2 separate regions of the Homo sapiens genome follow, and region 1 is linked to region 2. The links are contacts of gene promoters, found by promoter capture Hi-C in human tissues and cell types (Jung and others, 2019). All regions are on one chromosome and are shown on one strand. The core of a region is centred on a gene start or on the middle of the fragment in contact, and the rest is flanking DNA. Distances in the headings are between cores, read along the strand shown. Region 1 overlaps LCK (LCK proto-oncogene, Src family tyrosine kinase). Region 2 holds the start of TMEM234 (transmembrane protein 234).

Evidence for each region. Contacts are between HindIII fragments. The study calls those that stand out against the background at their distance.
Region 1: a fragment that was not itself captured here is called in contact with the fragment with the promoter of TMEM234 in region 2 in 1 of the 25 tissues and cell types used here (small bowel).

The regions. Positions count from the first base shown.
Region 1 is chr1:32,274,292-32,279,278 of GRCh38, reverse strand. LCK (LCK proto-oncogene, Src family tyrosine kinase) reads right to left here. Exons shown (of 13, transcript NM_005356.5): 2 at 4,845-4,954; 3 at 4,461-4,542; 4 at 4,196-4,286; 5 at 3,860-3,958; 6 at 3,607-3,710; 7 at 3,216-3,365; 8 at 2,790-2,942; 9 at 2,493-2,672. The coding sequence starts at 4,949. Among named protein-coding and RNA genes, the nearest start is that of HDAC1, 15 kb to the left of the region's middle. The HindIII fragment of the contact is 9,449 bases long and covers 1-4,987 here.
Region 2 is chr1:32,221,103-32,225,995 of GRCh38, reverse strand. TMEM234 (transmembrane protein 234) reads left to right here and starts at 3,643. Exons shown (of 5, transcript NM_019118.5): 1 at 3,643-3,689; 2 at 3,978-4,129; 3 at 4,799-4,865. The coding sequence starts at 3,674. EIF3I (eukaryotic translation initiation factor 3 subunit I) reads right to left here and starts at 3,589. Exons shown (of 11, transcript NM_003757.4): 1 at 3,552-3,589; 2 at 3,366-3,458; 3 at 1,875-1,962; 4 at 1,521-1,586. The coding sequence starts at 3,554. RefSeq lists enhancers at 3,261-3,894, 3,171-4,370. The HindIII fragment of the contact is 14,812 bases long and covers 1-4,893 here.

The sequences.
Region 1 (4,987 bases), core at 2,196-4,695, 53 kb before region 2:
TTTCATCTCTGCCTGCTAAAAAAAATTCTACTTTTCTTTCGTGGCCCTGCTAGACTGCCCCACTAGGAAGCCTCTCTAGATCCTACCAGGCATAATAAACTGGATCATCATCTACACTCCCATGGGCATGCTGGAACTTTCCCATGGCACAAACTCTGGTTTCCCCAGTAGCTGTAACTAAAATCAGGTTTCCCTGACAACAGGAACCTTGTTTCATCCATCCATGTTCCTGGTGCCCAGCCGAGAGTAAGAAACAATAACTATGTGCTGAATATATTGGATGGAATAAGAAAGAGGGGGTCTGGGGGTCTGAGGGACCACCTCTCTAATAGTGGAGGGCAGCTGGACATGGATGGGAGTTGCTAGGATGCAGTGAGTGACCAATGGCCCTTCCCAAGAGATTAAAACCCTGTAAAAGGATGACAGCAACCTGAGTGTCCCCACTTTGAGTGCTGAACTAGTTACCAAAGACAAAGACCTCACCTACACACAGCAAATACATAGACATAGATATACTGCCATTCTTCCATTGTATCCATGGCAGATGTTACTAATCATTCCTGGCACTCACTTCCAATGAACCTCAGAATCCTTCTCCAGCACTACAAGCAACTACCAATCAAAGTCGATACACATGATAGGCTGGGCATGGTGGCTCACATCTGTAATCCCAGCACTTTGGGAGGCCAAGGCGGGAGGATCACCTGAGGACAGGAGATCGAGACCAGCCTAGCCAACAAGGCGAAAACCTGTCTCTACTAAAAATACAAAAATTAGCCAGGCATGGTGGCACATGCTTGTAGTCCCAGCTACTTGGGAGACTGAGGCATGAGAATCATTTGAACCCAGGAGGGGGAGGCTGAAGTGAGCCGAGATCATGCCACTGCACTCCAGCCTGGAGGACAGAGTGAGACTCAAAAAAAAAAAAGATACACATGACATAATCTATTTGCCATTTCCCATTAGCCAATGAACAGCTTGTTTCTCTTCCTGAAAAAAGGATAGATCTTACACTCCCAAAGAATCAGAGCCAGATAACAGCAACAAACTTATTGATCAGTTACTATATGGTAGCCATAGTTTTGTGGGTTTTTTGTTTTGAGACAAGGTCTCGCTCTGTTACCCAGGTTGGAGTGCAGTGGTGCAATCACAGCTCAGTGCAGCCTCAACCTCCTGGGCTCAAGTGATCCTCCCACCTCAGCCTCCCAAGTAGCTGGGACTACAGGCATACACCACTATGCCCAGCTAATTTTTAAACATTTTTTTGTAGGAATGAAGTCTCGCTATGTTGCACAGACTGGTCTTGAACTTCTGGGCTCAAGTGATCCACCCACCTTGGCCTCCCAAAGTGCTGGAGTTATAGGCTTGAGCCACAGCACCTGGAAGTAGGCATAGTTCTAACTGCTCTGTATGCATTAATTATTTCATCCTCACAAGACCCTGTGAGGAAGTTACTAACGCGTTATTATAGTAGGAAACCATGGCAGAAAGAGGTGATATAATTATCACAAAGCCATAAAATCATGAAGCCAGGCTTCTGACCCAGGCAGTCAGACTCTAGAGGCCTTGATGAATACTCTGTATTATTTCTGGTGAGCCCATTTAGATTTCTGCTGTTATACTTGGGGAAACTGAGCACCAGAGACAGTGCAGGCACTTGGCCTGTCACACGGCAAATCGGTGTGAACAAAGCTGAAGCTAGAAACTCATATTCCTCTTCCTGGGGCTCTCACTCTGTCCAGTAACAGACCAAGAGGGGTGCAGGGGTGGGGGTCTCACTCAGAACTGAAAAAGAGGGCTTTGGGGGCAGATCTGCCCTCCTAGGGCTCAGGGGCAGAAGGGAGAGAAACAGGGCTAGGGACCCACTTGCTTTCTGAGATCAAGCATCCTGAGATCAAGGTAGGGCTTTGAAGAAGGCAAACAGAATGGCAGGTCAGGGAAGGTTGGGGTGAATGCTCTTCCAGAACATTCTTGCCACCTTAGGCTTGCCCCCAGACAGGATCAGATCAGAGGATACACCTTTTTCTCATGCCTGGAGGTGAGTCTTTTTTTTTTTTTTTTTTTTGATAGAGTCTTGCTCTGTCACCCAGGCTGGAGTTCAGTGGCATGATCTCAGCTCACTGCAACTGTAGCCTCCACCTCCCGGATTAAAGGGATTCTCCTGCCTCAGTCTTCTGAGTAGCTGGGATTACAGGCATGTGCCACCACACCTGGCTACTTTTTGTATTTTTAGTAGAGACAGAGTTTCACCATATTGGTCAGGCTGGTCTCGAACTCCTGACCTCGTGATCTGCCCGCCTCGGCTCCCAAAGTGCTGGGATTACAGGCCTGAGCCACCGCGCCCGGCTGGAGGTGAGTCTCCAGGGGGCAGGAAAGCTCAAGAAACCCTCCTTGCTTGAGCTTTGGGCCAGAAGAAAAGGTGTATTTCCACCCTCTGGCAGGGACAGCAGGGAGAGCAGTATCCCCTGGTAGCCGACTCGGGTAGCACCCACCATTCTCCATGTATTCAGTGATGATGTAGATGGGCTCCTGGGTGACCACAGCGTAGAGCCGAACCAGCCGCTGGTGTTGCAGCTGCTTCATGAGGTTGGCCTCGGCCAGGAAGGCGTCCGGGGACATGCTGCCCTGCTTCAGGCTCTTCACCGCCACCTTCGTGTGCCCGTTGTAGTACCCTGGGTCGGGGAAGGGAAGGAGTGGGAAAGTCGCCAGGCAGCTGTCCTGGGACTCTCATCACCTCAGCGGCCCCTCCCGTTCCCCTCTTCCCAGGCAGTCCTGGAGGCCACACTCACCCATCCACACCTCCCCGAACTGTCCAGCCCCCAGCCGCTCCACCAGCTTCAGCGTCTCCCTGGGAACCTCCCACTCGTCCTCCCACCACGGCTTCTGGGGCTTCTGGGTCTGGCAGGGGCGGCTCAACCGTGTGCACAGCCCATCTGAAGCATCTGCGAGGACGAGGGAGGGGTGAAGGCTGTCAATAGGGCAGGCCTCGTATTGACACCACCTCCCCCACTTCTCCAAGCCCCCATCTAGGTGAAGTGGACTAGCAAGGGGGTGTGGGGCTGTCACCCAAACACTTGGGGCCGTAGGGTCAGGTTCCACACCTCACCCACTGCGGGGAATGGAGTAGGGCATTGAAAGATGGATGGGGGACACCTGAGGGGGACTGAGGGGAGATAGGCTGATAGGGCACGGGGGAGGGGTCCCGTCGGGCTCACTGGTGTAATGGCGGACCAGTTCATGCAGGCCGGGAAAAGTGATTCGAGGGGAGATGTAGAAGCCACCGTTGTCCAGATTACGGATCTTGTAATGTTTCACCACCTCTCCCTGGTTCTGGTCGAAGTCCCGGACCGACAGTGAAAACGATCCTGAATGAATGAATGGATGGACAAAGCGACGAAAGAACGCAGTGAGTCTGGCCCGCCACCGCGCCCCCACCTTGGGCTCACCCAGCACCCCCAACTCCGGGTCATCCCGCGCCCCCACCTCGGGCTCATCCCGCGTCCCCCTCCGACTCACCCCGTGTCTCCACCTCGGGCTCACCCTGCGCCCCCCCTCGGGCACACCCCGGGGCACCCCCGCGCCCGGTCGAGACCGCCGCCCGCTCACCCGCGGTGCTCTCGCTCTCCCGGATGAGGAAGGAGCCGTGAGTGTTCCCGGGCGCCAGGAGCTGCCGCTCCGCGTCCTTGCGGCTCAGGTTCTTGAAGAACCAGCTGTGCAGGGCGGAAGCGAACGAAGGCCGTCGGCTGTCGTCGGATCTTCCTCCGTGGCCCTCAAGCCTTCACCGCCACCCCAGGCCTACTCCCTGCTCCAGGATCCCTAGATCTGCTCCTACCCACCCCCACGACGGGTCCCCACTTACGGTTCGGGCTCCAGGCTGTTCGCTTTGGCCACAAAATTGAAGGGGATGAAGCCTTCCTGGCCCGTGGTCAGGGACTGCGCCTTCCACCACTCGCCGCTCCTGCGCCACGGAGGTGGGTCAGTGTGGCTCGCTCAGCCGTCGACCTGAGACCCTCCCTCAAAGACCCCTCCACCCCTTAAGCCAGCCTCCCCCAACCCTGGCTCAGCAATACTGAGCCTCGAATTTTGTCCCAAGGGCGGCCACCCCGAGCTGGTCAAGGGCCGCAGGAGGGCTGCGGGTCGCGGAGATCGCCGCTCCCTCACGGACTCCGCCAGAGCAAGGTGGAGAGGGACTCACTGCTCCAGGATGCGGAGCTGTTCCCCCTTCTCAAAGCCCAGATCTCCGTCGTGAGAGGGCTCATAGCTGTGCAGAGCGATAACCAGGTTGTCTGTAAAGACAAGGGGCATCAGGGAGAACCGAGCTGGGATCGGCAGGAAGCCTGGAGTTACAGGGTGGGGGACAAGGAAGGCAAGACCGGGGAGAAAGTAGGTGGGGGAGAGGTGGAAGCCAACAGCCAGGGATCCGCAGGCCTTGTCTTTCAGGCCCTGCTGCCTGGGGTCACCTTGCAGTGGGGAAGCCGGCGGATTGGAGCCTTCGTAGGTAACCAGTGGGTCCCGCACCTCAGAGCCATTTCGGATGAGCAGCTGTGGAGTGGGGGATGAGGGTGGGGTCAGAAAGCAGAAGATTGGGTCAGACCCTGGCCCCCTTCCCCCCTGCTCTGCTCTCAGCCTCTCCAGCCTGGTTAGATGTTATCCCTGAGTTTACCAACTACTTTCTGTGTGATCTTAGGAGATTCCCTTCCCCTCTCTGGGCCTCTTTTCCTTTCTGTATTTCAGGGGAGAGGGCCACTCTATTCTTTCAAGGGCCTGTAGTGCTGGTCATTTCTTTCTCCTGGGTTGCATTCTCTACCCAACTCCCTCACCAAGGCCCCTGTCTCGCCTCTTACCGTGCCCTTGCCATCCAGTGGGACTATGGGATAATGGCAGTTCTCACACACATCGATGTTTTCCATCCAGTCATCTTCCGGGTGTGAGCTGCAGCCACAGCCCATGGTCCCTGAGGGAATGGAAGAGGGGGCTGAAGGGGCTC
Region 2 (4,893 bases), core at 2,394-4,893:
GCTGGAGTGCAGTGGTGCAATCTCGGCTCTCACTGCAAGCTCCGCCTCCCGGGTTCACGCCATTCTCCTGCCTCAGCCTCCCAAGTAGCTGGGACTACAGGCGCCTGCCACCATGCCCCGCTAATTTTTTGTATTTTTAGTAGAGACGGGATTTCACCGTGTTAGCCAGGATGGTCTTGATCTCCTGACCCGTGATCCGCCCGCCTCAGCCTCCCAAAGTGCTGGGATTACAGGTGTGAGCCACCGCGCCCGGCCTTTTTTTTTTTGAGATGGAGTTTCGCTCTTGTCCTGCAGGCTGCTGTGCGATGGTGTGATCTCGGCTCACTGCAACCTTTCAAGCGATTCTTCTGCCTCAGCCTCCTGAGTCGATGGGATTACAGGTGCCCACCACCATGCCTGGCTCATTTTTGTATTTTTAATAGACGGGGTTTCACCATGTTGGCCAGGCTGGTCTTGCACTCCTGACCTCAGGTGATCCACCTGCCTCAACCTCCCAAAGTGCTGGGATTACAGGCGTGAGCCACCACACCTGGCCAAGTATTTTAACTTCTTACCTAGACTCTTTCCTCAGACATCCTGCTAATGTGGCACTACTCATACGTAGACTGCAATATATCTGTCTCTCCCTCAGACTGTGCTTCTCCACAGCAAAGACCTGATCTGATTTCCCTCCATGTCCCCAGTACCCAGCATAGACCTGGCACTAAACAGAACAGCTTAGGCTGGGCACAGTGGCTTGTGCCTGTAATCTCAGCACTTTGGGAGGCCAAGGCGGGTGGATCACTTGAGCTGAGGAGTTCGAGACCAGCCTGGCCAACATGGTGAAACCCTGTCTCTACTAAAAATACAAAAATTAGCTGGTGGCCAGGTGCAGTGGCTCATGCCTGTAATCCCAGCACTTTGGAAGGCCGAGGTGGGTGGATTACCTGAGGTCTGGAGTTTGAGACCAGTCTGGCCAACATGGTGAAACCCTGTCTCTACTAAAAATACAAAAATTAGCCAGGTGTGATGGCGCATGTCTGTAATCCCAGCTATTTGGGAGGCTGAGGCAGGAGAATCACTTGAACCTGGGAGGCGGAGGTTGCAGTAAGCCAAGATTGTGCCACTGCACTCCAGCCTGGGTGACACAGCGAGAGAATCTGTCTCAAAAAAAAAAATCAGCCAAGCATGGTGGCGTGCGCCTATAATCCCAGCTACTGGGGCTGGCTGAGACAGGAGAATCCCTTGAACCCGGGAGACAGAGGTTGCAGTGAGCCGAGATAGTGCCATTGCTCTCCAGCCTGGGTGACAGTGAGACTCTGTCTCCAAAATAAGAAAAAGAAAAAAAAAAAAAAAAAGAAAACTTAATCTATGCTTCCTCTACCATGGCGTGTATTTTCTCATCTATCTTTCTTGTCTCTTATTCCCTAGACTGGAAACTATCTATGGATTTCATCTCTATTTTCCTAGGACCTGTTTACTCAAACAGGTACACTGTAGGTCCTCAATATTTGCTAAAAAGGTGAATGAACCCAGCTTACCTGTTTCACAGTCCCAGAGACGACAGCTGTTGTCAGCTGAGCCAGTGAGGACATGCTTGGTGTCCCCTGAAGAGTTGTTAAGAAATATGACGAAGTTCACCCGAGCCCTTGTCCTCTTGGGATGCCAAGTGAATCATCTCCCTGTTCAGCCCCAAAGAGCCTTTCTACCCCTCTTACCTCCTTATCCAGAACTGGAATTTGTCCTGAATGTTTCCTCAGTCAGTGAAGAGACCAGGGAGTAGGAGGTATCGTTCTCTAGGCCCTCAACAGCACCCCCAACTCCCAACTCCCAACTCAGCCTCTCCATCGCTGACAGACCCTAGCAACACGGACTCAGACCCAAAATAAGGATACAGTCAGCGTCCACACACCACACAGCTCCGGTATGGCCCATGTAGGTGCCCAGCCTCTCACCATTCACAGAGTACCATACATTGACGATCTGGAAAAGTCAAACCACAGGATAGTACACATCCCAGTAAGAGCAATGGCTTCCTATTTTGCCCCAGGAACCCTCAGCAGCCTGTAGCAAGGCTGATTCTGCCCTCTTCTGTTTATTTCTTGGGAAACAGCAGGGAGCTGGTAAAAAGACCAACTCCTGGATTCTCCTCCCTTCCTGAAGGGAAGCAACAGAGGAGTCAGGCGGCTTGTAAAGGCATCCTCATTTGTTAGCTCCAGCTCTCCTGGGACTCCCAACGGCTCCAAAGAATAAAAGGCCAAGTTGAGCTCCAGTCCAGAAAAACAGTATCTCTGATGTCTTATCCAAGTGGGAGCAGCTGGTAGTAAGGAAGTCTGGGTTCTGGTGCCTGCTCTGCCACTGTCTCACTATATGATCTCAAATACAGTGCTTCTCTCCTCTGAACTTCAGTTTTCTCATCTTGAAAATGGCCAGGCCGGGTGTGGTGACTCATGCCTGTAATCCTAGCACTTTGGGAGGCCGAGGCAGGCGGATCACCTGAGGTCAGGAGTTCAAGACAAGCCTGTCCAACATGGTGAAACCCCATCTCTACTAAAGATACAAAAAATTAGCTGGGCATGGTGGCACGAGCCTGTAGTCCCAGCTACTAGGGAGGTTGAGGCAGGAGAATCGCTTGAACCTGGGAGGCAGAGGTTGCAGTGAGTCGAGATCGCGCCACTGCACTCCAGCCTAGGCGACAGAGCGAGACTCCGTCTCAAGAAAAAATAAAATAAAATGGCCAGGTGCCTCAAAAGGCAGTATCATGAGGGATTGTTTGGCATTGAGTAGCAGGATGGGATTGACTTAAAATGAGACTAGAGACACCCTCATTAAGTTCCCTGTGTCTGAATAACACAGCCTGCACCTATCCTGGTAGAAAGATTAGATTATCCCTAAAGGTCGCATCCCGTTCTCTGGGCAAGCTGACCCTCATCTTTATCCCCTTTCCACAGTGGTCTCTTGCTTTTCTTGGAGTGCAGTGGCACGATCTCAGCTCACCGCGCTCAAGCGATCCTCTCGTTTCAGACTCCGAAGTAGCTGAGACCACAGGCGCGAGGCCACCATGTCAGGCTAATTTTTTTGTGTGTAGAGATGGGTCTTACTACGTTGCTCAGGCTGGTCTCCAACTCCTGGGCTCAAGCGACCCTCCCACCTCGGCCTCTCAAAGTGCTGGGATTACAGGCGTGAGCCACCGCACTCGGCCAATAGAGTTCTTCCCCACCTTTCCCGGTAGAATACTTTCGCCAACCTACCCCCGGCATGGCCTCTCCCTACTTCTCACAATGGGCTGCTCTTTGGTTCCCCGCTAACGGCAAAACTGGCGTGTCCACCCATCGTCCTGGCAGAAGGATCCCGCCCCTCCCGGACCCCCTCCAGCCAACACTCACAGGGTCCTTGGCCACAGTAAAGAGGAGGTCTCCTTCGCGGTTATACTTAATCTGCGTAATGGACCGCTCATGGCCCTGCAGTAGGATCGGCTTCTGTGGGGACAAGACAGTAACGTCAGTGCTCGGAATTGGGCCCCAGCCTCAGCCCAGGACCCCCACTGCAATACCCCTAACTCTGAAACTCACCATCCCGGCTGTGACGCGAGGAAGGCCGCAACGTGAGTAAGACCGGAAAAGGTTTCGAGGTCACTTCCGGATTATGGGTCTCCGCCCCTTCGTTCCCGGAAGTAGAAGACAGCGGCGTTGCCATGGCGGCGTCTCTGGGTAGGTAGCCGGCCCCGCCCTTCCATGGATTTCCCGACCCTCGCCTCGAATTCATTTCCTGCTCCACATCCACCCTCTAACCCCGACCCCTGCTACAACCCCAGAGGCCGGACTCCTGGATTCATCTCCCTAGCTTCCCTGGGCCTGCCTTAGCCGCCAGTCGCAGCCGAGGCGAAGAGAGCGAAGGAGGGAAGTGGGGGCGGCTAGCTGGGGCTAGAAGGCCAGGAGAGGGCGGGGTGGGCGGCCGTTTGGGGTGGGGGTCAGGGTGACTCACTCGTCTGCATTCAGGGCAGGTGTTGGCTCTGGTGCTGGTGGCCGCTCTGTGGGGTGGCACGCAGCCGCTGCTGAAGCGGGCCTCCGCCGGCCTGCAGCGGGTTCATGAGCCGACCTGGGCCCAGCAGTTGCTACAGGAGATGAAGACCCTCTTCTTGAATACTGAGGTGCGTCTCTGTGAAAGGCCCCTCTCTCGGTGGAGTTGCCGCCAAGAATTTGGTCTTTGGAGTCAAACAGGTCTGGGTCAGCCCCACCACTTACTCACTAGAAATTCTCGGAAAAGTCAGTTGTCCTTGAGCCTCAGTTTCATCATCTGTAAATGGCGATTATAATAATAACCATCTGATAGGTCAGTTGCAGGAATTAGGTGAGATACGTAGAGCACTTAGCATTAGGCCTAGAACATAGTAAGTGCTCAATCTATGGCTGCCATTATTCACATTTTATTGTGATTCCTTCAGTTACATAAGGCAACATTTGTGAGCCTTTCCAGAGGGAGGGCTTGGGGCTCAAATTGGCCCTGCAGGGGAGGAGTTCAGAGGAGGAAGGCTGGAGCTGGAGGACTTGGGGAAGGCTTCCTGGAGGGGCTGACATTGGCTTCAAGGCCTTGCAGGATGGGAACTAGCAGAGGTGAGGGAGAGGGTAGTTTGAGCAAAGGCACAGACTTCAGTCTGTTTCCCTCTTTGCCCTGGAAGGATCCTCCTTAGAGGGATTAGTGTTCTCTGGGTCCTTATAACCCTGCCTCCCTCCAAGGAAAGACATTCGCTAGGAGCTCAAAGAAGGCAGTGCTGCTCAGTCAGGCCATCACACTGACTGCAGGTTTCTCCTCTTTCCAGTACCTGATGCCCTTTCTCCTCAACCAGTGTGGATCCCTTCTCTATTACCTCACCTTGGCATCGACAGGTGGGTCCTGGCTTGGAACTGTTCTGCT